Regions from separate parts of the Homo sapiens genome. Here all the other regions are linked to region 4. The links are contacts of gene promoters, found by promoter capture Hi-C in blood cells and fetal thymus (Javierre and others, 2016). All regions are on one chromosome and are shown on one strand. The core of a region is centred on a gene start or on the middle of the fragment in contact, and the rest is flanking DNA. Distances in the headings are between cores, read along the strand shown.

Evidence for each region. The method cuts DNA at HindIII sites, captures the fragments that hold promoters and counts their contacts. A CHiCAGO score of 5 or more calls a contact.
Region 1: a fragment that was not itself captured here is called in contact with the fragment with the promoter of RFX3 in region 4 in 1 of 17 cell types (fetal thymus); the score reaches 6.8 in fetal thymus.
Region 2: a fragment that was not itself captured here is called in contact with the fragment with the promoter of RFX3 in region 4 in 5 of 17 cell types (naive CD4 T cells, naive CD8 T cells, total CD8 T cells and 2 more); the score reaches 11.6 in naive CD4 T cells.
Region 3: a contact is called between a fragment that was not itself captured here and the fragment with the promoter of RFX3 in region 4, in 2 of 17 cell types (M0 macrophages and naive CD8 T cells). The highest score is 5.6, in M0 macrophages.

Annotation. Positions count from the first base shown.
Region 1 is chr9:2,836,526-2,842,893 of GRCh38, reverse strand. PUM3 (pumilio RNA binding family member 3) reads left to right here. Exons shown (of 18, transcript NM_014878.5): 2 at 4,377-4,468; 3 at 5,493-5,714. The coding sequence starts at 4,387. Among named protein-coding and RNA genes, the nearest start is that of PUM3, 4.4 kb to the left of the region's middle. The HindIII fragment of the contact is 2,236 bases long and covers 531-2,766 here.
Region 2 is chr9:4,336,184-4,342,498 of GRCh38, reverse strand. It overlaps a transcript of GLIS3 not described here. Among named protein-coding and RNA genes, the nearest start is that of GLIS3, 39 kb to the right of the region's middle. RefSeq lists an enhancer at 2,816-3,110. The HindIII fragment of the contact is 1,497 bases long and covers 2,756-4,252 here.
Region 3 is chr9:4,297,829-4,303,532 of GRCh38, reverse strand. GLIS3 (GLIS family zinc finger 3) reads left to right here and starts at 3,465. Exons shown (of 11, transcript NM_001042413.2): 1 at 3,465-4,112. GLIS3-AS2 (GLIS3 antisense RNA 2) reads right to left here and starts at 4,232. Exons shown (of 4, transcript NR_186824.1): 1 at 4,110-4,232. The HindIII fragment of the contact is 4,501 bases long and covers 1,805-5,704 here.
Region 4 is chr9:3,522,304-3,527,751 of GRCh38, reverse strand. It overlaps RFX3 (regulatory factor X3), which reads left to right and starts at 1,751. Exons shown (of 17, transcript NM_001282116.2): 1 at 1,751-2,005. LOC124902110 (a long non-coding RNA gene) reads right to left here and starts at 1,267. Exons shown (of 8, transcript XR_007061398.1): 1 at 975-1,267. RefSeq lists enhancers at 807-1,106, 1,367-1,416, 1,994-2,610 and silencers at 1,597-1,786, 2,217-2,306. The HindIII fragment of the contact is 14,491 bases long and covers 1-3,129 here.

The DNA of each region.
Region 1 (6,368 bases), core at 399-2,898, 680 kb after region 4:
CCATTGGCTGAGATGGAGGACGATAGGGCAGGGAAAAATAGTATATTGTTGTTTGTGGGGCAAACAACAATAACATAAAGAACAACATAGAGAATTATGTTTTGGACATATTAAGGGTAAGGTTCCTGTTAGACACATAATTAGAGGTATCAGATAAGCAGTTATACACAAGTTTGGACCCCAAGGAGAAGTTCATAATGGAGACATGATTTGGGAGTACTCAGCATAAAAAGCCAGGAGATTGGATGAGACCACCTAGGGAGAAGTGTGGAGAGAGAAGGGAAGTTCCCTAGGGCAAAGATTTGAGGAATGCTAACATGTAGAGGTTGGTCTATAAGAAAATGTCATTTAAACTGAATTTGAAGGATGGGTAGAAATTGTGTTGGTAGAGAGAATGGCTTTAAACTTCACTATTCTGATAAGAATAGTGGCTCCTGTGTGGTGGTGATGAGTGGGGTGAATTAAGACCACATTTTGAATGGCTGTGAATGCCTGAGTTGGAACTTTTTCCTGAAGGCAGTGGGAAAGCTTTGAAGCTATTGGAGCATGGAAATGACATGAAATAGGTGTGCTACTGGAAGGTTAATCAGGCAGCGGAAAGTGGATCAAAGCAGATAGGATCTAAACAAAACTGAGCAAGAGGTAACAGGAGCCTGAATGGGGTAATAGAGGGAAAGGAAAAAGGGGGGCGAATTCCAAGAGACACTATTGAATGTGATGATTCATTACGAAGGTACAGGGTTCCCAAGCAAAGCAAATTGCATTTTGCCCAGTGCAAAAAGCAAGACTCAAAAAGTTACATATTGTATGATTCCATGTATAAGAATGCCATTCTGGAAAAGACAAAACAGGAGTGAAAACCTAATCATTGGCAGTCAGGAAAGAGGGAAGGAGTTGAATACAAAGGAGCTGTACCAGGGGACTTTTTAGAGTGACAGGACTTTTCTGTAAGATACTGTGGTAGTGGATGCATGAGTCTTAGCCATTTGTTGAAGCCCGTGGAATTATACACCAGAAAGAGTAAACTTGACTATATGCACATTTAATAAATCTGCCAGCATTTCTGGGGATGGAATGCAGGCTGTGACAAATCAGTTAAACTATATTATAAACATGTAACTTCACTAAAGAGGGTGAGGGGCCGAAGGGCTGATCTAAGAACCTTTTTTTTTTTTTTTTGGCCTGCAGCAGTAATTGCTGCAGGCAGAATACACTGACTTGAATGCTAAAGTTAGCAAGTAAAACTTAAGAGGAGGTAGGATGTCCATATATTCTCCAAACATCTTGTCTGAAATGTTTATTAATTGCTATGGTAGTTTAACATTTGAAATAGAGTCTCACTCTGTTGCCCAGGCTGGAGTGTAGTGGCACAATCTCAGCTCGCTGCAGCCTCTGCCTCCTGGGTTCAGGTGATTTTCCTGCCTCAGCCCCCTGAGTAGCTGGGATTACATGTTTGCAACACCACCATGCCCAGCTAAATTTTGTATTTTTAGTAGAGATGGGGTTTGGTCTTGAACTCCTGACCTCAGGTAATCCACCTGCCTCAGCCTCCCAAAGTGCTGGGATTACAGGTGTGAGCCACCATGCAAGCCTCTAAGTAACTTTGGAAAAGTATTTTGAATGGATACAAAAAAGAATTGTACGTCAACACTGTACTGTCATTGTAAATTTATTTCTCACGGGGTACAGGTTAGCAATTCTGAAACTATGCATGTATAGTAGGGTGGAATATGTGTATAAATAAATTGTAGATGGTGGGAAGCAGGTTGCTCACTGTCAGAGAAGGAAGTTACAAATGAGCAAGAGGAGATGCCTGGAGGAAAATATGTGGTGCTTGATTAGATTTGGAAACATCAGTATGAGCTTCAAGTTATTGTAATAGATATAAAAATAAATATAGGTATGTGCATATGCATAAGTTAATATACATATATGTGTTTCCTGAATCTGTCTGCCGAAAGGACATAGAAACAGGGACACCTCAGTGACAACAAGTGCGCCTAGCACTCAGATCTTGGTTTTTAAATACCATTCTCAATGAAAGGAACCAGGATTCCTTGGAGAAGTGGCTGATTTCAGGGCTAGGTTAAGGAAAATACAGAAGGAACCTGGAGCCAGTGCCAGGAAATAAGGATGTGCTTTAAAAGCAAAACAAAACAGTTGGGCCGCGTCAAAAGGACACAGAAGCAACCTGAGAAACTTCCCCCTGGCTGGAGCTAGCATTATTTGAGCAACAAAATAACAGTGGTATTGGATTATAACCAAGGAATGAAATAAATATCTGAGACTATATGATACAAGTAAATAGATGGAAAAGATGGGACAAGTCTTCCCTACAGAAAAGTTGAGAATAACAAAGGCAAAAGTAATAAGAGAAATAGAAGATCACCATTTAAATGCAGTAATTGCTGCAGGCGATATCCACCGACAAATGCTAAAGTTAGCAGGTAAAACTTAGGAGGACATAGGATGTCTACATATTCTCCAAACATCTTGTCTAAAATGTTTATTAATTGCTGTGGTAGTTTAACGTATGCCTGGATTCTTTAGTACCCCTCCTTCTGGGAAGTGGAGCTTAATTTTCCTCTGACTTTGGGCTGGACTTGGTGGTTTGGATCTAATAAAGATGGAAAGGTTAAAGTGGCAACTTCACAGTGGAGAAACCTGGAAAACACTACTTTGACCAAGTGAACACGGTTAACATAAACAGTAATAAGTCATGTTAATGTCATGTACCTCTTGATAGAGTACTACCAGAAGAAAGCTTGACCTCTGGTAGTCTTCCAAAAAATGTGTAGCCTTAGCCTAATCATGAGAAAACATCAGGCAAACCCCAAATGAGGAATATTCTACAAAATACAAAGGAGACTTGATGGCCAGATTCAGTGTATCCTGGTACAGAAAGAGGATATTAGTGGAAAAACTGGTAAACTCCAACTCAACTCTGTAGCTTAGTTAACTGTATGTTAACATTAGGGGAAGCTGGGGAAAGGGTATATGTGAACTGTGTATCTTTTCAACTCTTTTGTAAAGCTAAAATTATTTCAATATAAAAATTAGAACAAACATACAGAGAAAACATGTAAATGAATGGATTCTTAGAAAACTACAGGTGTAGAAGAGCTGAGAGATGCAGGTATGGTTATGATGGCCATAGCCAAGTAATAATGTGACCCTTCAGTTCTAAATGCCCTGAGGAAGCTGAGTAATTCAGGGACTGTCCATTTTTCAAAATCATTAGAAAAGTCTAGATTAGAACAGCACTTTCCAGAGTACTCCTTGGAAGTCTGCTGTTCCCTTATGATGTTCCAGGAAAAAGTGGTTCAACTGGAGTTGGAAAATCCTGCATCCTTTAGCCTTTGCTTGAGAATTGATTGTATATATTAGCAAATTAAAGAATCTGAAAAGCCTTTTCTTACGGGCTGATTCTTGTCATTTAACTTACTGTTTCCCAAATATATTTTATCCCAGAACCCTTCTTTTCTCTTATGGTAATATCCTGAGAAATTAGTTCTTGAATGGGCAATTCTAATCTAGAAATATCTGGTGTTGTCTAGGGATCCCTAACATCTGTTGTTTACAGCCAGCTTTCAAATGAGTTGATCGTCCAACTTTGGAAAGTGGAGAAATGAGCCAAATGGCTTTTTCTCTTGATCTGTTCTGCTGCTTTCAGGGACCTTGGGTAGGTGAGGGGTTATAACTTGTTTATCCTGTGCACCATGGTGTCTCAGTAGCCTATAAAGCGCCTATTAGACAGATTCCTTTCAATGAAATATTAACTATTTCAACATCTTATTTTGGAGTTCACTGCCAATTGCTTGGCTGCGTCTAAAACAATCACAGATTAAACACTGGATGCTAATCTTTGTTTTAGCTGTGTTGGATTGCATAGGAATCTTTCAGATAATCCTTTATTTTCTTATATTAAATGCATGTAGTGGTACATGCAGCCTATTGTTTGTTCCTGGCTTTTTAGGCTCCAAGAAATCAAGCGATAATTTTGTCAGTTATTCATCCCCTAGTCTTCCCAGGTTACAAAATGCAAACTCTGATGCTTATTATACTTAGTGTCAATAGTGGTCTATTTTTAGCCAGTACTATTGTGGAAGTGAAGTGATGCCTCCAGAGATATCAAACACTGGCCAGGGTGTGTGTTGTTCTTAGTTTTTTTATTGATACCTTGTTCATTTTCAGTTTTAAAATTTGAGTCAGTGATTGCAAAATTGCTGGATTTAAGTACTTGTCCATTCTATATCTGGCTGATTTGTATTGTATTTGTAGACTGAAGGACTAAATGTGGCAATGACTATGAAACAGCTCTTATTTGATGAAGAGAACTGCAGTGATTGTTTTTGGTTTTGGTTTTGGTTTTCCAGAGTTGCTACGATGGAAGTTAAAGGGAAAAAGCAATTCACAGGAAAGAGTACAAAGACAGCACAAGAAAAAAACAGATTTCATAAAAATAGTGGTAAGATATGCTTCCCATGTGGGTGTTTGGCTGTTATAATTGGGGGATGGGAGGGCATGTAGTAAATTTCAATCTGTATTCATTGGCTAGGATTAGGATTAAAATAGTAGGAAGAAGTATGTGTTATTGTGTATGAGTTAACATGTTGCTCATGACATTTAGACACTTAAGAAATTGCAAGAATGATTGAGGAATGCCTTATTCATGAAAGACTCCTTATCTCAGTTGTTGCTGCTGTTGCCTCATTTTATTCACACTAGTTCACCATACATTTTATTTTAACATTTGATAAATTAGGACTGTTTAATACATACTGCTCATAAGCCAAATACGTTTAGGTTCAGAATTTATAATGGTGATGTCTTTATTATTCCATCAGGTGTCAGTATTGTAAAACAGAAAAGTCAAGGGACTATACAAATGATTAATGTTTCCTTAATGTTAGCCATTACTGTTTGCATCTCATTTGTTAGGTACTAATTTGTAAGCCTTCTTGATCAAAAGTTTTTGATAAATAATTTTAATATAGGCTTTAAAATTTTCTTAAAACTAGAAAATTTTAAAATTAACATTTTAGATGTCCTTATGATATACTTTCCAAATTTCAAGAATGTTCAAGAAGTCATTTCTTAAGACTTCTTTTGTTATTGAACTCTTGAAAATTCTGTGTAGACCATCATTAAAGCAGAATACAAAGGTATATAAATAATAGCTCTGCTATATGCTTAAAACTAGAGAAACATACCAAACTGACACCAGTGTTTATCTTTAGTGGTAGAATCATGGGTAGCTTTTATTTTACATTTCTCTACTCTCTAGGTGGTTTTATAATCAAGGAAAGAATTTTTTATTTTTGTTTTGATTGTTTAAATCCAGTTCTACTCAAAAGGCTATATGTTGCATATTTGAGAGTAAGACATGGTATTGGGATTAAAAAGTATAATTTTCTGTAATGGATATAATCCAATAGATAAAAGAGATTTGGGCCCAGAATCATTGAACTTATAATTATTATTGTCACTAGATTCTGGTTCTTCAAAGACATTTCCAACAAGGAAAGTTGCTAAAGAAGGTGGACCTAAAGTCACATCTAGGAACTTTGAGAAAAGTATCACAAAACTTGGGAAAAAGGGTGTAAAGCAGTTCAAGAATAAGCAGCAAGGGGACAAATCACCAAAGAACAAATTCCAGCCGGCAAATAAATTCAACAAGAAGAGAAAATTCCAGCCAGATGGTAGAAGCGATGGTAAGTACTGGTTCGTTCATGCCTGAACTAGTGCCTGAACGATTGTGCACAGGGACTCTGGAGGTGCGTTAGAAACCTCACATTCTTATTCCTTGGCAGGTAACATTTTGGGACAGGTAGGTGGCTTAAATAAACAACAAAGCATCTTTCATGCTCACAATTTTCCTCTGGTGCTTAGAGTTTCTTATTTCTTAGCCCTTTTCTGAATTACCTTAGCCATGGAGTTAAGTTAAATTATAATGGCTTTATACAGTGGAACCTCAATAAAACATTTCTTTTTATAAGCTAAAATTTATTCGTTCATCGAACGAGTATTTGAGTTTTCTATGCATTGTACCAGGAGATAGGGCAAAACACACACACACACACGCACACACACAAAAATAATCAGTAAGGATACAGGCCCCAACTAATCATAGAATCTGGCTTTAAAGAATCAGTCTGTCCCCAGCTAAGTGTCAGCCTTGGTTAAGGATGCTTTGGTGAGCAAGAAACATAGAGACCCTGCCTTCACAGAGCTTAGGCCAGTCTAATACAATAAATCCCTCTGATGGCGCAGATCCATAGTAGTTCCAGAGAAGGTGTTGTGCACACATGACAGATTTGATTTTAATTGATTCAGGACAAGTTGCTCACTGATTGGAAGTATTGGCA
Region 2 (6,315 bases), core at 2,255-4,754, 810 kb before region 4:
AAGACCGCAGTAACCCAAATAGCATGGTAGTGGTACACAGACACATAGACCAATGGAACAGAATAGAGAACCCAGAAATAAAGCCACACACCTACAATCACCCAACCTTTGACAAAATCAACAAGAACAGGCAATGGGGAAAGCGATGAAAGCACCAGGCCATAAATGGTGCTGGGATAACTGGCTAGCCGCGTGCAGAAGATTGAACCTGGATCCCTTCCTTTCATCATACACAAAAATTAACTCAAGATGGGTTAAAGACCTAAATGTAAAACCCAAAACTATAAAAACCCTGAAAGATAACCTAGGAAATGCCATTCTGGACATAGGCCTTGACAAAAGATTTCATGACAAAAGTGCCAAAAGCAATAATAAAAATTGACAAATGGGACCTAATTAAACTAAAGAGCCTCTGCACAGCAAAAGAAACTATCCACAGATTAAACAGACAAACTACAGAATGGGAGAAAATATTTGCAAAGTATGCATCCAACAAAGGTCTAATATCCAGAATCCACAAGGAACTTAAGCAAATTAACAAGCAAAAACATACATCCCCATTAAAAGATGGGCAAAGGACATGAACAGATACTTCTCAAAAGAAGACATATACGTGGTCAACAAGCATGTAGTATGCTTAACTGTTATGAGATTTAATCAGTAACGTGGGAAAAAGGTGATGACAGAAAAAAAAGCGGAGATCCCATTTGTTGGCCATGGGATCTAATGCTGAAGTGGAGGAATTTTCCTTAGAACTGATTGCTTGTTCATAGGAGGGAAGGCAGAGTACCTGGGCACAGTTATCAGAGCTGGCCAGAGGCACTGGTTGTAAGACTGTGGTCTTTTTCTATTGGTTTTCAAATTATCAATAAATGGGATGAGCTTGGATTGGATGCATTGGATGGAAGTGAGTATAGGTGAGGAAGTGCTAGGGGTCTGAGGACAGAAGAGAATGAGGGAAATAAGTCATGGAGGAGAGTGGGAGAAAAAATGATATAGGGCAGCATTAAGGATCTACTGGAGATCAGTGACCTTGAATGTGAAATGAGACAAGTCTTCACAATGGTGAGTTTTTCTCCAGCACACAATGAGCTGTGTGCACATCAGCCTGGAGAAGAAGGAGAGTTGATTTGAACAGGGTCAGATGTTGCCTGATAACTACAAGTGTGTAATCCCAGGGTAATAGAGCTTATCTTTCACTCGTGTGAGTGCAAGCCAGGAGAGCTTTAAGCTCCAGTGATGCCAGATAGGTTGGAAATGGCTGAAGAAGAAGTGGAAGTAGATGGATAGAGAGCAGTCTTGTTTTGTCCTAGAGAGTATTGCACAAGCCTGTGGATCAGATAATGCAACTAGGAAAGTCTGTCCCCAAAAAGGAAACACATAAGTTCTAAGCATACCATTGGACCAGAAGAGATAACAGATCATTTGGATTAGAGGGAAGAAAGACTTGCAGTCCAGAGGCTATTCAAGGATGTCAGATGCCAGTTGTGGGTGTTTGCAGAGTTGCTAAAATATCAGGTGAGGCCAGGCACGGTGGCTCACACCTATAATCCCAGCACTTTGGGAGGCCGAGGCAGGTGTTTGAGACCAGCCTGGCCAACATGGCGAAACCCCATCTATACTAATAATACAAAAATTAGCCAGGAGGGGTCACCCACACCTATAATCCTAGCTACTTGGGTGGCTGAGGCAGGGACAATTGCTTGAACCCAGGAGGCGGAGGTTCAGTGAGTTGAGATAGTGCCACTGAACTCCAGCCTGGGTGATGGGTGACAGAGCGAGACTCTGTCTCCAAAAAAATTAAACAAAAACAAGAATCAGGTGGGATCTGGTTCCGACAACGGTCTCCAGGTTCAAGTGTCCATGGTGGTTAATAGCGTGGATGTGGAGATGAGCACATGGACCATCACCCTCACTCCCTCATTCCTGCTGTCCTGCCACCACAAATACACAGAAGCTTAACCCTAGACCCAGGAACCATCCGGGCAAGGAGAACAGGGATGGAGGATGCATCCTGAAAGATGAGGAATTTGCCCCAAAGACACTGGGTAAGACAAAATAAAAGAATGTTTCATCCTGGAATTGAGTTGCCTTTTAATTGGGAAGTTGAAGTTTTCCCCCACCCCCTCACTTCTATTCAGCTCAAAAGTCAGATGACATCAGTCATGGCAAATAAAGGAAAATGACATACTTTTTTTTTTTTTTCTCATTTGATTTGTAATTCCTAAACTTCTATCTGGGTACAGACGTTTTGGATTATTCAGAGATTTAAAAAATACATACTAACTCTGTTCCCCTGTGGTAATTAAAAGTTGGCCATGTAAGAAAGAAAATATTAAAAGTATGGAGAAGGCTGTAGAAAAAGGGAATAGATCCAGAGATTCTAGGGGAATATCAACCTCATGCTAAGCCAAGCCGTGAGGACATGGTGAATTCACTGATGAGCAAGAAGCAAAGCCGCTTGTCAGCTGGTATTAAATGTTGACTTCTCCCTAGTCTTTGTGTCTTGGTCAATACCAAATGAGAGAATGTTTGCTCTTAAGTTCACTCTAGGAAACTACCCACCAAAAACTTGCTTTACCTTTCTGTCTCTTTTCTTTTCCTTTCCTTTCCTTTCCCTCCCCCTCCCCTCCCCCACCCCTCCCCTACCCCCTCCCCTCCCCTCCCCCTCCCCCCTCCCCCTCCCCTCCCCTCCCCCTTCCCTCCCCCTACAGTTTCTGGTTCTCTGGGCACGTTTTGATCCCAGTGAGAAGCTTCTTTTGTACCAAACTTCCCAAATCCCATCATTGCATTGTTATCTGGCTTTGAAATGTCACTGTGGCATCTCCACCCTTGCTTGGGAAACTTTGCTCAATGAAAAGTCTGATTAGCTTTACCTGACCCTAAATACACACAACAGAGACGGATCACAGAAGGACCAGAAGCAACAGGTTGGAGAGGTTCTTTCCGGTTAGCAATCCAAACCTCTGCACCTATTTGGCCTCTAGGCGGCGCCAGCCCTTCAAAAAACAAGGCTGTTTATGTAACAGATTGGCAGTTTGAACGTCTATATAAATGTCATTCTTTAAAAATAAAGACGAAACTCTCAGTTAACTTAAACAGGAGCAAATTAAAAAGTAGAGTGAAGCATGTATTTCATGAACACAATTCATCGGCTGTCTTTGGTACTTCAAAATGAAACATTTTCTCCAAATAACTGGCACCCTCCCACTGGCTTTAGCTACATAGTGACAAAACAACAGATCAATTCACTTCAGTGAAGAAGACAAATCCAGTCATTGAGGACTGGCTTCATGTGACTTACACACCTGGGGACAGAATTCTATCTATGCCACCAAATATATAAGCCAAGCCACTAAATCATGACTGAGGTGTTGAGTTTATCCTCCCAAACATATCGAGGTAGTGTTGTATGGACAGTCTCAATTGTTTTGAACATGATTATTTTGCTTCATGAACTCACCAGGAGGGTCCTTGAAATGCCGCTTTTCAACATAGTTTTAAGGGTAAGCCTGTAACACATAAAGCCGTCTCATTTTGAAGGCTTTGTGTCCTTGTGTGTTAATGCAGAATCTCAATCTTAGCTTCAAAATGGAATCACTTGGGGAGCTTTAAAAAAAATCCCAAGACTCAGGCACATACCCCAAACCAATTAAATAAGGATCTCTGGAGCTGGGACCCAAGCAACAGTGCTTTTTCCAGGCTCCTTAGGTGATACAATATGAGGCTATATTTTTGGTTCCTCTACTTTCTACTTGCAGCTCCTTCTCCCATGGGGCTGGCTACAGGAACCAATCTCCAGTACTTACACTATTTTCCCCCAGTTCCTTTTTCTCCCTGGGTCTGTCCCCAAACTTCATGCAGAACAATGCCTGTGAACAAGTCACATGCCCTTTAGATTCTTCCAGACCTATTTGAAATTCAGTGGTAGCCACATCTTGACTTCAAGTTTGGGGCCCTATACAGTCATTGACTAGTAGATATGAACAGTACCTCATAGGTTGTCTAGTATGGTGACTCCCAAATACCAGTCCTGAGCTGAATTCTCATCCTGAATAAGAATAATCCAGGGAGCTTGTTTAAAAAATTGTGTGTGTGTGTGTGTGTGTATGTGTGTGTGTGTGTGTGTGTACACACATATATAATAGAAATCCATCTATCTCTCTATATATACGTATAATTTTGTTACCAGAAAGTCTCATTCAGTAGGTCTACAGAAAGACCTGAAAGCTGTGTTTTAACAAGCTAAGCTTAAAGGAAACTCATCTAGTCCAACACTGCCAACACATAGCAGCAGCAAAATCTCAATGGGATATGCCTTGTTCAAGGAAACTTGTCTAGTCAGGAGAAGCGATAGGATTAGAATCAGGTGTCCTGACTCCTGTGAAAAGAAGTCATGCTATGGACAAATACAGTTTTTGCATTTCAAAACTAAACACACACACACACACACACACACACACACACACACACAGCCTTGCCAATCTTACCAGTTAGACATTAGAGAAAGAGCAAACCATCCTGGGAAATCAGATCTGGGTCCTAGCTCCTGCTTGGTCACATAAGCTGTGTGGTTTGGGGCAAATATTTTCATCTCTTTGAACCCCAGTTTCTTCATCTTTCAAATGGGGGTAATAGTTGCCTCATAGAGTTTTGTGAGGATTAAATGATACAACATATCTGAAAGATGGATAGTGGAGCCTGGTACTGAGTAAACAAAACTGGTTGCTACCACCTCTACTATTATGCTACTATTGTGATCATTATTATGAACATTAATCAGCTTTTGTCTGGCCTTGTGATATGGTAGAATGAGTCAGATATTGGCCCAAAGGGATCCTCCATGTTCTTTTACTTCAGTGATGCTTGAGGCCCTTGTCCAACTCAGCATGTCAGAAAAAATGACCGGAAGGAGCCTGAAGCTTTTTGTTTGTTAGATATATTTTTTTGATTATAAAGGAAATATACATCATTGTAGAGTACATAGAAATGTTCAGAATCATTGCAAAATATTGCCTTCATTCGTTTAAATCAAAAGTATGAAAATACTGTCCGTACGATTTTGTATCTTTATTTTCAAATGAACATTTCCTATGTCATTAATTTTTTGACCATATCACTTTAATAGCTGCATACTATCTAATCATATGGCTGTATTTAATTAACTATTTTCTGATTGTTAGACATTTATGTTATTTCCAGCTTTGTTACAATAATTAACACTTTGGTGAAGGTCTTTGTAGATAAAGTATTTTTCTGAGCTTCTGATTATTTCCTCAGGACTGTGTCCCAGAATGAGAGTTTTGGGGTTAAATGATTTGCACTTTTAATGATTCTATGTGTTGCCAAATTACTTTCGGGAAAAGTTGTACCAATTTGTTTGTGCACTAGAAGCCAATGACACTACCAACTCTGAGTATTTTCTTTTCCTAATTTGATAGGTTAAAAGTAGTATCTCATTTTAGTGCATTTAAAAACATTTACTAGTAATATTAGATTTTTAAATATTTATTAGTCATTTATATTCTGTCCTCTGGAAATTGTCCATTTACTTGATCTATTTTTCTCTTGGAATTTAGTGAGTTAGTGTCTTCCTTATCAGAATATATGAGTATTCATGTAGAATTGACAGATAACTTTGTAGACCTCTTTTCATAGATCTTTTTAGCAGATCTGTAGTGTAATTAGTATGAACATCTCTCTACTATCATAAAAACTTGCCAACTAAAGGAATATACAAATTGTATAGGACTTGGGACATGAGCTCTGGAGCAGTGAACATCGCACGTTTCCCATAAGTGATAGTTTTGAGGAATGGCAAGGTTTGGAGTTAGGTGGATCTGGGTCTAAACCCTAGTTCTGTCGCTTACTGGTTTTGCAGTCTTGGTTTTGTTGTTTTATCTTCCTGAGTCTTACTTTCCTTTTCCATAAAACGGAAACTATATATTCAGTTTCAGGGCTCATGTGAGGATGCCAAGAGAAAGGGTGATATCAACACCCCGACACATGTATCAGTGCCCTCAGGGTCTGGCACCAGAAACTGTAGCAATGATCCTAAGGGATCCAGGTCCCTGACCCAGAACTGCCACCCAGAGTATTGGTGACCTGGCCTGGCCTGGTGGCTTTGGCCCTGTGGAGCAACTTTAATGCTAGTTACAGCAGCACCAGGGGCTTAGTGGATAGATAGCTTAGCCATAGAGATCTCTGAAAGTATTCAGAGCTAAAGAAGAGGAAACCCATATATCACATGTGGCCATGGAGAGGACTGATTTTGAATCCACATGAGATGCTTTTTGGAGACTCCCAAGATTAGGT
Region 3 (5,704 bases), core at 2,806-5,305, 770 kb before region 4:
TATGTGAGCCGAAGAGTTTGGGCTGAACATACTTGTGACAAATTAGTAGAAAAATCAGCTTAAGTTTTCTTAGTATATCACACACTGATAACATAATGTGAAATTTGCTGCATTCCACTATTTGTACTACTCAGGAAAGTAAAATGGAAATTTTCCATTTTACACATTTAGTTCCCCCCTTAAAGTTGGCAAACACTAACTTTTTCCACTGCATTTCTACGTAACTGGACTGTTGCCAGCTCGTGTGTGTGTGTGTGTGTGTGTCTGTGTTTTAATAGCTAGGCATACTATCACTGGTGCTATTAGCTCAACTTATCTGTATTTTGGGGTTCAAATTTGTTTCTTTTCACGGACACTTTGTGGGAGGAGGAATCTGATCATAGTTCTTTGCAAGTTTGTAAGTGGTTTACTGTCAGAGCACTCAGGGTGACTCAAATAGCAGTTCTGAAGTTTTGCTGTCAGGATGTTCCTTCGGGAGAGTTTCATTGCTGTGAGACAGTGGATGTTCCTATTTTGTACTCTAGCTTTGAGTGAGCTGCTTGCTATGCAGGACTTATGCCTTCTGTGCCCCTTTTGATGCTGATTCCTATACTTGAAATGGTCTCCTTTGCTTATCACTTCTCTACTCATTCTTTGAAGTCCAGCTCAAACAGCCAAGCTACTCCATGTCACATTGCAGGAAATTATTCCTGCCTCCTCCACACTCCCTACAAACTTCATTGTGCTCATCTAACACTGACCACAAGATGCTTTGCACTTTATACACCTGCAATATGTTTTATACACATTCAAAGAGCATGCACAATTATTCTGTAGTACAGTAATGTTGATTGAACTTGGGGCTTCTAAACTGGCATACTTGGCTCTGTCTCTGACTCTCTTTAACTGTTTACTGAGCTTCAACTTCTTTGCTTCTAAGTAGGAGATTATTCATAGCCACATCATACATTTGATTTGAGAATTAGATGAGGTAATATATGCAAAGAGTCCCCATTTCTTGAGGGTTTGCTACAACTAAGACACTGGGCAAAAAGTTTTCTGTAATATCCTCCCATATACAATGCCTACAAGTGTTAATTCCTTTAGTCCCAATACTTGGACAGAGTGTGTACTCACTGAATATTTCTCTGATGAATGAGAACTGGACTGGAGCTGGCAGCAGGGGCCTGTCTGCTGAGTCAGCTGCCCTGAGTCAGCGGTTGAGGCACATACAACACTGGTCTCTAGAGAGGGAAGATACTGACTGGGCTGCAGTTCCCACCTATCTGGCTGAAGGGCTGCCAGAGTATGATTCCTAAGCACGATGGAGAGCTCATGGGTAAGGGAGAGTATCATTTTGGAACTACATGATTTCCTTTCTCACTGTCTCTCATTACCACCCTCCCTCACCCCTGCTGACCAATTCAGCCCAGAAGAGGTACAGATCTCATTCTGAGTCATTCCAGGGTTGTACTGGTACAAGAACAACTGCATTTTTACTATAACCCATGGAATATAAGAACATTGCAGATCTACATTCTTGGCCAGAAAAAAAAAAAAAGAAAAAAATTCAACCAAAGCACTATACCTCTTCAGTGGTAAATATTTTAGGAATGTTAGAGGTTCATGAAAATCACACCTAAATAAAATGACATTCCCACTCTTGGGCTCTTATAAATGAAGAGATTTTGGGGATCTCCAGGTTGATGACTCCTAACTTTCCCAGTGTTTTTTTCCATGAGCTATTGATTAAAGTTGGGTGTAGCACTATATTTTTTTCTCTTCCAGCTAAGCTGTTCCCATCATTTGGGAAGTTTTAGAAGCTTCTGCAAGCCCCTAGGATACCATTCTATGCATCAAAACCATTGTATTTAAAATGATATTTGAGGGACATTGGAAAGGTTTTTTGCAGTCTCCACCCAGGCTTGTCTTGCTCCTGGGAAGCAGTTGTACAGCACAAGAATCTGATGAACAGAAGTTCCCATGATGCATTGAAGGGTTAGTGTTGCCATCTTGCTCTGTTCCTTAAGGCTGGAGTTAATGAGGAAGAGTTTTTATGTGAATGTCAGGCATGTTGCAATAACTAGCCACAATGGAATAGTCATGGCAATTTCCACCACTTGGTTTCTTTGTTTTTGTGATGTTGCTGCATGCTTCATTTTATGAGTATTTTCTTTTCTTACGTGTGGTTGAGCCCATCTATTGCCATCTTGGGCTTGAATACTTGTATTTAAAAGAGATGAACAGAGAGAAACTGGAAAACTGACAGAATGACATATCCTGACCTCTTACTATTTTTCATCCCCTACTTCTGCTGACAAATATTCTGATGAGTTTGTGTCCCAAGGTGAAGGAAAAGAAAAGAAAAAGTACTGTGGAAACCAGGCTTCTTTTGGTTATGTTAATATCATGGATACAGACCAAGCCTAGTAGTATTCCCACTGAAATTAGATAAATGAAAACTGCCAATAGTCTTTTAGTTTTGGCTTTCTGGGGTAAGTCATTTGTGTCCTTGAGGACTTCTGTCTTGATCAAAGCATCTACTACCTGATTGCTAATTTATATTGGAGTGGTAACAGTAGAATAGAATATAAGGACTTGTGAAATTCTAAGTGTCTGGTGGCATCCTCACTCATTTCATTCATGATGGTGAATAATACTGTCAACTGCAGAAAGGCCTACCTGGAGGATATTGTGTGCATTACATACCTAGATTCCCAAGATGGAAGTCCTTGCATCTGTGGCAATACATGTGATGAACTACTAGGAGCAGACTTTCTTGTAACAACCTTTTGAGGGCTCTGGTCAACACAAGCAGAAGCGGTGGCGAGTCAGAGCTTAGGTGGGGTATGAGGCTGAGGATGTTGAATTCATAAGGATAAAGTGCCACTTTATAGACGTAACATACGCAGGGAATATACCTCCATTCTTAACAGCCTGTGTTCAGAATTTTATACCCTTCTAACACTTCCATCACCTTCCTCTCTTCCCTGCCTATACTTGGAAAGGATGCCAAAGCCTTCCTTAGTGCTTCACCTATCCAGTTTCGAAGCTGTCATGTGCATCCGATCCGATATTTCAAAGCAACCCTTTTGCCATTTTTCACTGTGTTATTCTCTCCGTATTACTACCGGATTTTTTTGGTTGTTTGTTTATTTTTTTATGACCTGACATCAAATCCTGTCTAAACACTAACACTTTTTCATGTTAAAATAAGTCAGTTTAACAAATAAGGCCAGGAAGAAGGCGAAGTGTCTCCCTGCTGTTACCCTGTTCTGGAGTTCCTCGACTTCTGGCGCACGGGGAGTGTGTGTGTGTGTGTGTGTGTGTGTGTGTGTGTGTGTGAATGCGTCAAGAGGGAGACACAAGCTCGGCCTTCGAATTGGCCAGCCTAGTGACCCGCGAGCCCGCCCCCACTCTTCCCCCTCCCCCTCCGGCGCTCACACTCAGGAAGCAGCTGGCTACAGGCCGGCCCTCGCGGCCGCACACACATCCACACTCCTCGCCCGGCTGCCTTCCTCCCTCCCTCTTCCCCCTTCCCCTCTCCCTGCAGCCGCGTCCACACTGCGCCGCCCGGGCAGCCCAGAGCGCGGCGCGCACGGGCACCGGCGGCGAGTGCCGCGGCCACTGCCCCTCCCGGGACCCCCTGTACGCCGTCCGCGCCGTCCAGGGTCACACCGGCGACGGAACCCGCCGGCAGCAATTAGCCAGCATCCCGGGGTCGGCCCCCAGAAGCATTCCCCGGCCCAGGACGAGGATGAACAGGACAGGCGAGGCACAAAGTCGCAACTGAACTTTTTAGAAACATTATTTGTGTGTGTATGTGTGTAGCAGGGGAGAATGAGCTGATGCCGAGGGTCCAGCCACCCCGCCTCTGCCTCCTCCTCCCCCTGCCGCCGCTGCCCTCGCAGACGCGCGCGCACACACGGCACTTGGGCCGGGTTTCCGCGCTCCGTCCCCCCGTTTGGATGGGGGTTTTCATTTCCGAAGGAGGCACAGCCCGCGGAGCGCTCTGAAGGGCTGGAGCCCCAAGTTACTCCTCGCCAGCGCCGGCCGCCCGCTGTCACTCGCGCTGGCCGGCCGGGGGAAGGGACCCGCACGCCGGGCTTTGTTGTGGAAATCCCGGTTACCTGGTAAGTGGATGCCATAGGAACTTTGCTCGCAGGCGAGAGACGAGGAGAAACCGGGCGCTTGAGAGTGTGGGGGAGTTAAAGCTCAGAGACGCAAACTAGGGATTACAAATAGTTTTCTACGCTGAGCCGGTGGCGTTCGCGCGGGTTTAAGGATACGCGCACCTCAACTCCCGGCGTCACAGGTCACTGAGAGACCTGCGCTGACTGAGACTGATAGCAACAATTAGGGTTCAAACCATGTTTCTGTCAGTGGCCTAAGAGCGCCCAGTGTAGAAGACAGATAACGGGGCTTTAAAGTTGCGCTAATTCGGAACAGTTTTTGTGTTTTCATTTCAAGTAGAGCGGGCAGAGGGGTACACAATCAGGGCACGTTACAGGACGCACGGGCATGGGGCGCACCACTCTGGAGTCCCCACTGAAGGGAAACTTTGGCGAAGTGGGAACTGATGGGGTGACGTGAGGTCTCTCGCGCACACGCGGGGCTGTAGTTGTCTTTTCAAGTTCCACGTGTTTGTGGAGTTTCACGAAGGCTGTTTTCCACGCCTGTGTCTCATCCAAGCCGGTGTCCCCATGATTGCGGGAGGTGGTCGGGCTGAGGGTACCTACACTCCTCGCGGGTACCGGCCCGGCGATCCGCAGCCGCCAGGTCTGGAACTATAACCTCCCACGCCGCCAGGACGCAGACACAGCCAGACACGAACCCTCCCCGCCGGGTTCGTCACCTCGCGTTTACATTTTTTATGGGGCCCGACAAAATGTCAGCACTGTTTGGAAAATGTCTCAGTCTCGGAGACGTTGTCCTGCGCGCGGCTCCAGTCCCTATAAATGACCCTGTGTGTATTTTGAAGTCGGCCCGGGTCGCTCTCTGGAAAGCGTGAGTGAGCCGCCGGCTCTCTCCTAGACACACACCTTGCCCCGAGCGACAGTTCCAAGTTACTCACTGGAGCTGACAAGTCACCTCGGGGACCGGGAAGTCACTCAAGTGTCTGGAAATCTTGGCCCTGGCTGATTTGTCATCCTATGGATGATTCAATTAGGTACCTGGCGGGAGAAACTTTGGGGAAGGGTTTCTGGCTCCGCGTTCGCGCCCTCCGACTTGCTGGAGGTGTTTGGGAGGCGAGAAGCGAAAGGAAACCACAGGGTGAGGACACTGGCTCGGCGGGGACCGGGGGGCCGGCGTGGGGGGACTGCGAGCCCGGCCGTGGCGCCCCCGGGCTACAGGCTCCGGCCAGGCCGGGCAGCGCGCGCAGGTCCCCGGCGCCCGGGCTTCCCAGCCGCAGCACCCTTTCGGCCCCCGACTCACTCAGGAGCGAGTTGCACAACAGGAAGCCGGCACTAGTTTGTTTTGTTGCGCTGCGTTCGCTCCCTCGCTCGCTCGCGCACGGGGCCGAGGGTTAGGGGCGGAGGCGGCGGGGGAGTGACGGGGTCGCAGCCGCGCGTACCCCGCCGGGCGCTGTCGCCTCCGCCTCCGGACCCGCCCCTAGCTCCGCGCCGAGGAATCTCCGACCCCGGCAGCGAAGCCAGTCCTATAGGGAACCGATAAGGGCCGCCCTCCTCCTGCCTTGTCCTACGCGCCTCTCCCCCGCTCCCGG
Region 4 (5,448 bases), core at 502-3,001:
ACTGTTCACTACTGCAACACATTATTATTGTAAGAACATCTCTAACTCATGAGATTATCAAAGGCAACAATATTACTTTTAAAAACGTACCCAAAGTAGCTGGTTCCTAAAACAAGGTAACCTTGTATTCTATGGCACGCAGCCATAAACTAAAACCACCGACTTTTAGGACTCTCGGCCTGTTTTTCCTCAAATGCGAATATTACCTAACACTGGTGTTGTTGGGATTACATGAGATAATGTATGTAAAACACTTAGCACCAGTTCTGGGACACAGAATGAGCTCAGTATTATTTTAGCGCTGGTGAACGCATGCCGGCCCAAATCCCTTACTTGCAGGTGCAAAAATTAAGCCTCAAGAGGAGAACTGACTTCCTAAGGCTCTACTTCTACTATGTCATTGTCCTGGTTAAGCAGCTTAGCGGCAAATGTTGGGAGATTTTGGGTATTGGCAGGGCCTGGGGGCATGTGCCTGCTGGACTCGAGTCTGCAGAGAATTGGAGGAGTCTGTTTGAACCATGAGGCATTACAGGCTGTGCCTTATCAACGGGTGTTTGAGATGGCAGGTTGTGTTAACAACATTCAACACAGACGGAAGCCATTCGTCTATCTCAATACAGCCACAAACAGCAAGACCCTCAGCTACAGTAGGCTGAGTAACGGGGGATGAGAGCACGGCAGGTAACAGGATCCGGGCTTGAGCTCAACTCCCAGTTCGGTCTTTAAAGAGGGGTGAGCACTTAAGGGCTGAAACTAACAGAACTAGAAACTAACAGGATGGTATCGCAGGCAGGTGTAAGCTACCCCGCCCCTCTACGCCTTCCGTCGAGGGGAACCGCCAAATGCGCTTTCTCAGCCTCCGGGCAGGGCAATTTCTTGCTCTCTACAGGCACTTACTCCCATCCCTTGTAGATAGGGAGTGATGACCTCGCTTTTTCGTTATGGAGTGAGGGCCGGACACGCTTGGACCTCACCTCTCCGCGCCACGCTGCGGCGGCACCGCGGGAGGCCGACTCGCGCCCACGCACACCCCACGCTCGCCTTCTCTAAGATGGCGGCAGAGGCAGCTCGCTCACGCCCCGCCGCCCGCGCTCCTCCACAAGTCGTGCCCTCAGGAGGCGGGAGCGGGTGAGAGCGCGGAAAGCAGGAGGGCGAGAGTGACGCGGACCCTCCAGTCTAGCGCAGGCCGCGGAGCCCTGAAGCGTCCAGGAAAAGGAAAAGCCAGGAGGCTGACGCTACCAGGAACACCGCCGGCGCCTCAGAAACTAAAAAGCGGCGGCACATCCGGGCCCCTCTGCCCGCCCCGCCCCGGAAGTAACGTATCGGGCAGGGCGGGGGCCGCTCTTCAAAGTGGATTCTTCCCTCGCCATAGCTCGTTTCTTCACAAAGTGCCTGGAATCACCCTCGCCACCCCCTCCCCCGGGTTAGCCGTTACTCTCTCGTGGCTCCGGGACGTCTCTGTACAAAGCTGGCTGCTGGGACAGGCAGCCCTCGTTTCACAGATAGTACCCCTCGCACCACGACTCCTGGGCCTCGCCAGCGCGTGTAGTAACGTCCCTCCGAGAGGACTCTTGGTGACCTCAGCCCCAGCCAAGCATAGGCGCACCTCTTCGGAGTCCTGCGGTGGAATCCCGGCCTCGTGCCCCGTCACCCCGCCGCCCCGCCACCCCACCCGGGTTTGGGGGCCGTCAGTCACAGCGCTGCGCCCTCCCCTTCCGGCGGCTTGGCCGGGCCCGCCTCCTCCCCTCTTCCCTCCCCCACCCCTCCCCGTGCGAGTGTCTCCCTCTCCCTCTCGCTCTCTCTCTCTCTCCCTCTCTCTCTCTCTTTTGTGAGTTATAGCAACCGTTGCCTTGTGAATCAAGCGCCATAGTCACCGTAGTCCTGGCGACTGTTACCCATCAACAACAACTACTCCTCTCCTCCTCCTCCTCCTCTTCCTCCTCCTCCTCCCCACCACCACCATCTCCATCACCCACCAACAACACCACAATAATCCACAGCCAAGGTGAATATTCTTCGGTCTCTACATGTGTGTGGGAGCGTGTGGCTGCGTGTGAACGCGTGTGTCCGTGCGTGTGTGTGTTCGTGTGTGCGAGCCGAGTGTGGCTGTGCTGGGGTCTCACTCCTGACACGGGGGCTGCCGCTGCGGCGCCGCCGCCGAGGGGCTCTGTTCCCCGGGCTTGTTTACAATGGACCCTGCGCGCCGCGGCTGGGTCGGGGGTGTGGGCGCCGCGCCGCCCGCCGGCCCCGGCCCTGCGCCGGCCGCACTTCAGGGATGGAGCGGGAGCTTGGGGGGCTGCGAGCCGAGCGGGAGAGGGAGCCACAGTTTTCCGATGCGGATGCTGGATCTTTCCCTTAGGTCTGGTCTGAGGAGGAGGGTCAGGTGAAGAGATAAGAATTTGTTCTTTCTTTAATTTTCTTCTTTTCCAACGCTGCTGTTTCCTGCTTCTTTCAAAGCCGAAATAGACAACAGTGTGCAAGGGGGGGACCCAAGAGGTGGTGTTTTGTTGTTGTTGTTGTTCACTTGTGGGGCCTTGTTATGGGTTTTGTTATTTTTAATCCTCATACGTTGGTGAACTTTTCCCACCGCCCATTCCCTTCATTTTTGCCCCTCTTTGCCTGGTGCTGAATGGGCTGCTCTTCTTTCACCATCATCAGCTTCATGGTTTTCTTTTTTCTTTTTAAAACTGTATTTTCTTTGTGCGGCAAACAGTCTTAACATCCATTCAGCACTCTTCCCTCCCCCTCTTTCTCCCCCCCCCCACACACCCCTTGCACACATATTGAAACCTGGGGCCTGTTCGTTGGGCCCTCTTTGCTGTACTGGGAAAGATGTTTTTCTTTTTTAAAGTCTGTCTCCTCTCTCTTCTTTGGTGTGTGTGTGTGTGTGTGTGTGTGTGTGTGTGTGTGTGTGTGTGTGTGTGCTTGTGATTTAAACCGGATGCAGGGCATCTGTGATACTTGGGTTAGTAGTTATTGACAGTGCTTTATCCTTCATGTGGAGGTGGGAGGGGGAGTAGTGAGGTTCCGTTTCACTTTGATGATCCTCCTTCCCCGCAGTAGAGTGTTAACAATTTTCATTGTGATTATGAGACTTTGTGATGAACAGGGAAGGGACACAAGGAAGCTTTGTGAGAACTCAGTTCACAGTGTTATTTGTGACAGTTATGGTACTTTAAGAGTTTTTTTTTTTTTAATCTCCTCATTTTCCTTTGAGAGTTGAAATTCAAGTCAAGTTCATAAAGAATGTATGAAGGTTCTCAACTTGAAACGTGTGTATATTTCACTTTCTTTCTGGTTAAGATCTAGGCATGTGTGTACTTAACATATTCTTTTTATTTACTTTTTGATTTTCTTTGGACAGTGACTTGAACCTGCTCAGGAGAGAGAACTTTTTCCTTTTTAAGTATTTCTTTTAAAAATTATTTTTCTCTGTAGATTTGAATACTTATTAGTCCTTATATAGTAGGTTCTTGGTTAACGTTAACCCAGTTTTACAGATCCCCTAAATTTGTTCATTTTTTTCAGCTTAACTTTTAGTTAATAGATTTATCAGTAGAGTTTTGATAATGAATGTGTGCTAAAACAAATATAATGTACTATTGTAGTTGCACATATTGAAGTTTTAAATTTACAGTTTTAAAATGCTTATTCAAATAGTCTTCTTTCTAACAGCAAACATATATTGATTTAACTGACACAGCAGCTTGTGAATAATGTGACAGTACTAATTATTCTTGAGATTGTCAACGAGCAGGGTGGGTAATTATAATGCTATTAAGGCTAATATTTTGTAAAATAAGAGTTGGGATTTTAAAAAAACTTTTTCAATTCATTTCCTTGTGATTGCTATTTTAAATGAAGACGATATTTTGTTCTGAAAGAAGTCTTTCTCAGAGCACTCAGATTTGTTTATAATTATTCCTCCTCTCCCCAAACTGGGTTCCATGCAAATCTCTAATACTAACTTGTATTTTTTTTTCTGTTCAGATGAGTGTCAAATGCCTGAACACTTTTGGATGGTGAAGCTCCTGGGTCCTATAAACTCTCTCTGAAGTTAATAGGAGTTTTGCTGTCTTGGGACAGTTTCAGACCTTATGCCATTTACATAATAGGTTTTCAGTTAAGTAAATTATATACTATAATGTTATGGTTTAATATTTTATTTACAGTGTCTGAGAACTTTTTTTGAGGCATTTCACTCATGTATAGCTCAGGTTTTCTGTGATTTAGATTTTCATTCACAAGTTGATTTGAGAGCAGAACTTAAATTGAATTTCATTACTTTTCCATTTTTTGAAGCATATATGTGGGATAAAATTGCTATTAGAGCTGCTGTGGAATTGATTAAATAATCAGAAACACTGAGAAATGGTAAATTTAAAAATTAAACACAAGGATAGATACTTAGCATTTACTTTATTCTTTCTTAATATTTTTCCTAGAAGGGACTATGTTATGTATTGATACTCTCTTGTGTTTTCAGTTTTTATACTAATAGAAATTTGTAAAAGTGATCATGCTTTGAAACTAAAACTATTAAATAGAAGTCACTTGTAACTTGTTTTGAATAGTCAAATGTCTGTGATTCAATGTATGTCATAATGCCTAACTCAGTCGTTTTGGTGTGTTTTGCCTATGAATTGTATTAAATGGTGTAGGCATCATACATATACACATATATGGCAAACTAATGAATTTCTAGAAGTTTTGCATCGTTTCACAATGTTTTCATTAAAGGTTGTAGTGATGGTTAGTTTTTTTTGTATTATTCCTCCAGTACTCAAATAGTCTTGTACTCTGCTTTGGTACTCAAATAAAAGGTTATAGTTTATAAGCTTACTGTGCTTTAACCTGGAACAGTTTATTTTACCCTAAACAATTTATTATGGTTAATTTTTTTACCATTAACAATAGCAATTAAAAAATGAATGAATCTTAAAGGCAAGTTGGATTTTATGCGTCGTTTAAATGATAATGTATGTTACTTTTTGGTAACATTTTTCATTTCTTGAGAAAGTTGATATTGTGTTGGTATTCTCCAGCTGAAGAAATTAGCAGGCAGAATATAATGATTTTTGGTTTTCAGATTTTAAAGTCTGTGTGTGTGTGTGTGTTTGTGTTTAAATGGGTGGGCATAGCAGCAGATGTGTGGCAAAAGTTACACACACACACACACACACACACACACACACGCACACACACTTTTCCAGAACAGTAATAGGAATATTACTTTGTTCTTAGTATCCATAGTGAGAATGTGTTACAAGAAATGAGAATAGGGAAGAAGTAAACTTTAACATTTTTGAGAGGCTCCTGGTTATTTTGTTTTAATGCTGAACCTTTGGCTAAAAATCCTCTATTTGAGCTCAGTTACCTTAAAAACAGTTTTCATAACTGAGTAATTTGCCTTTAACTCTTTGGTATATATTCCCAGTGGCCATGACA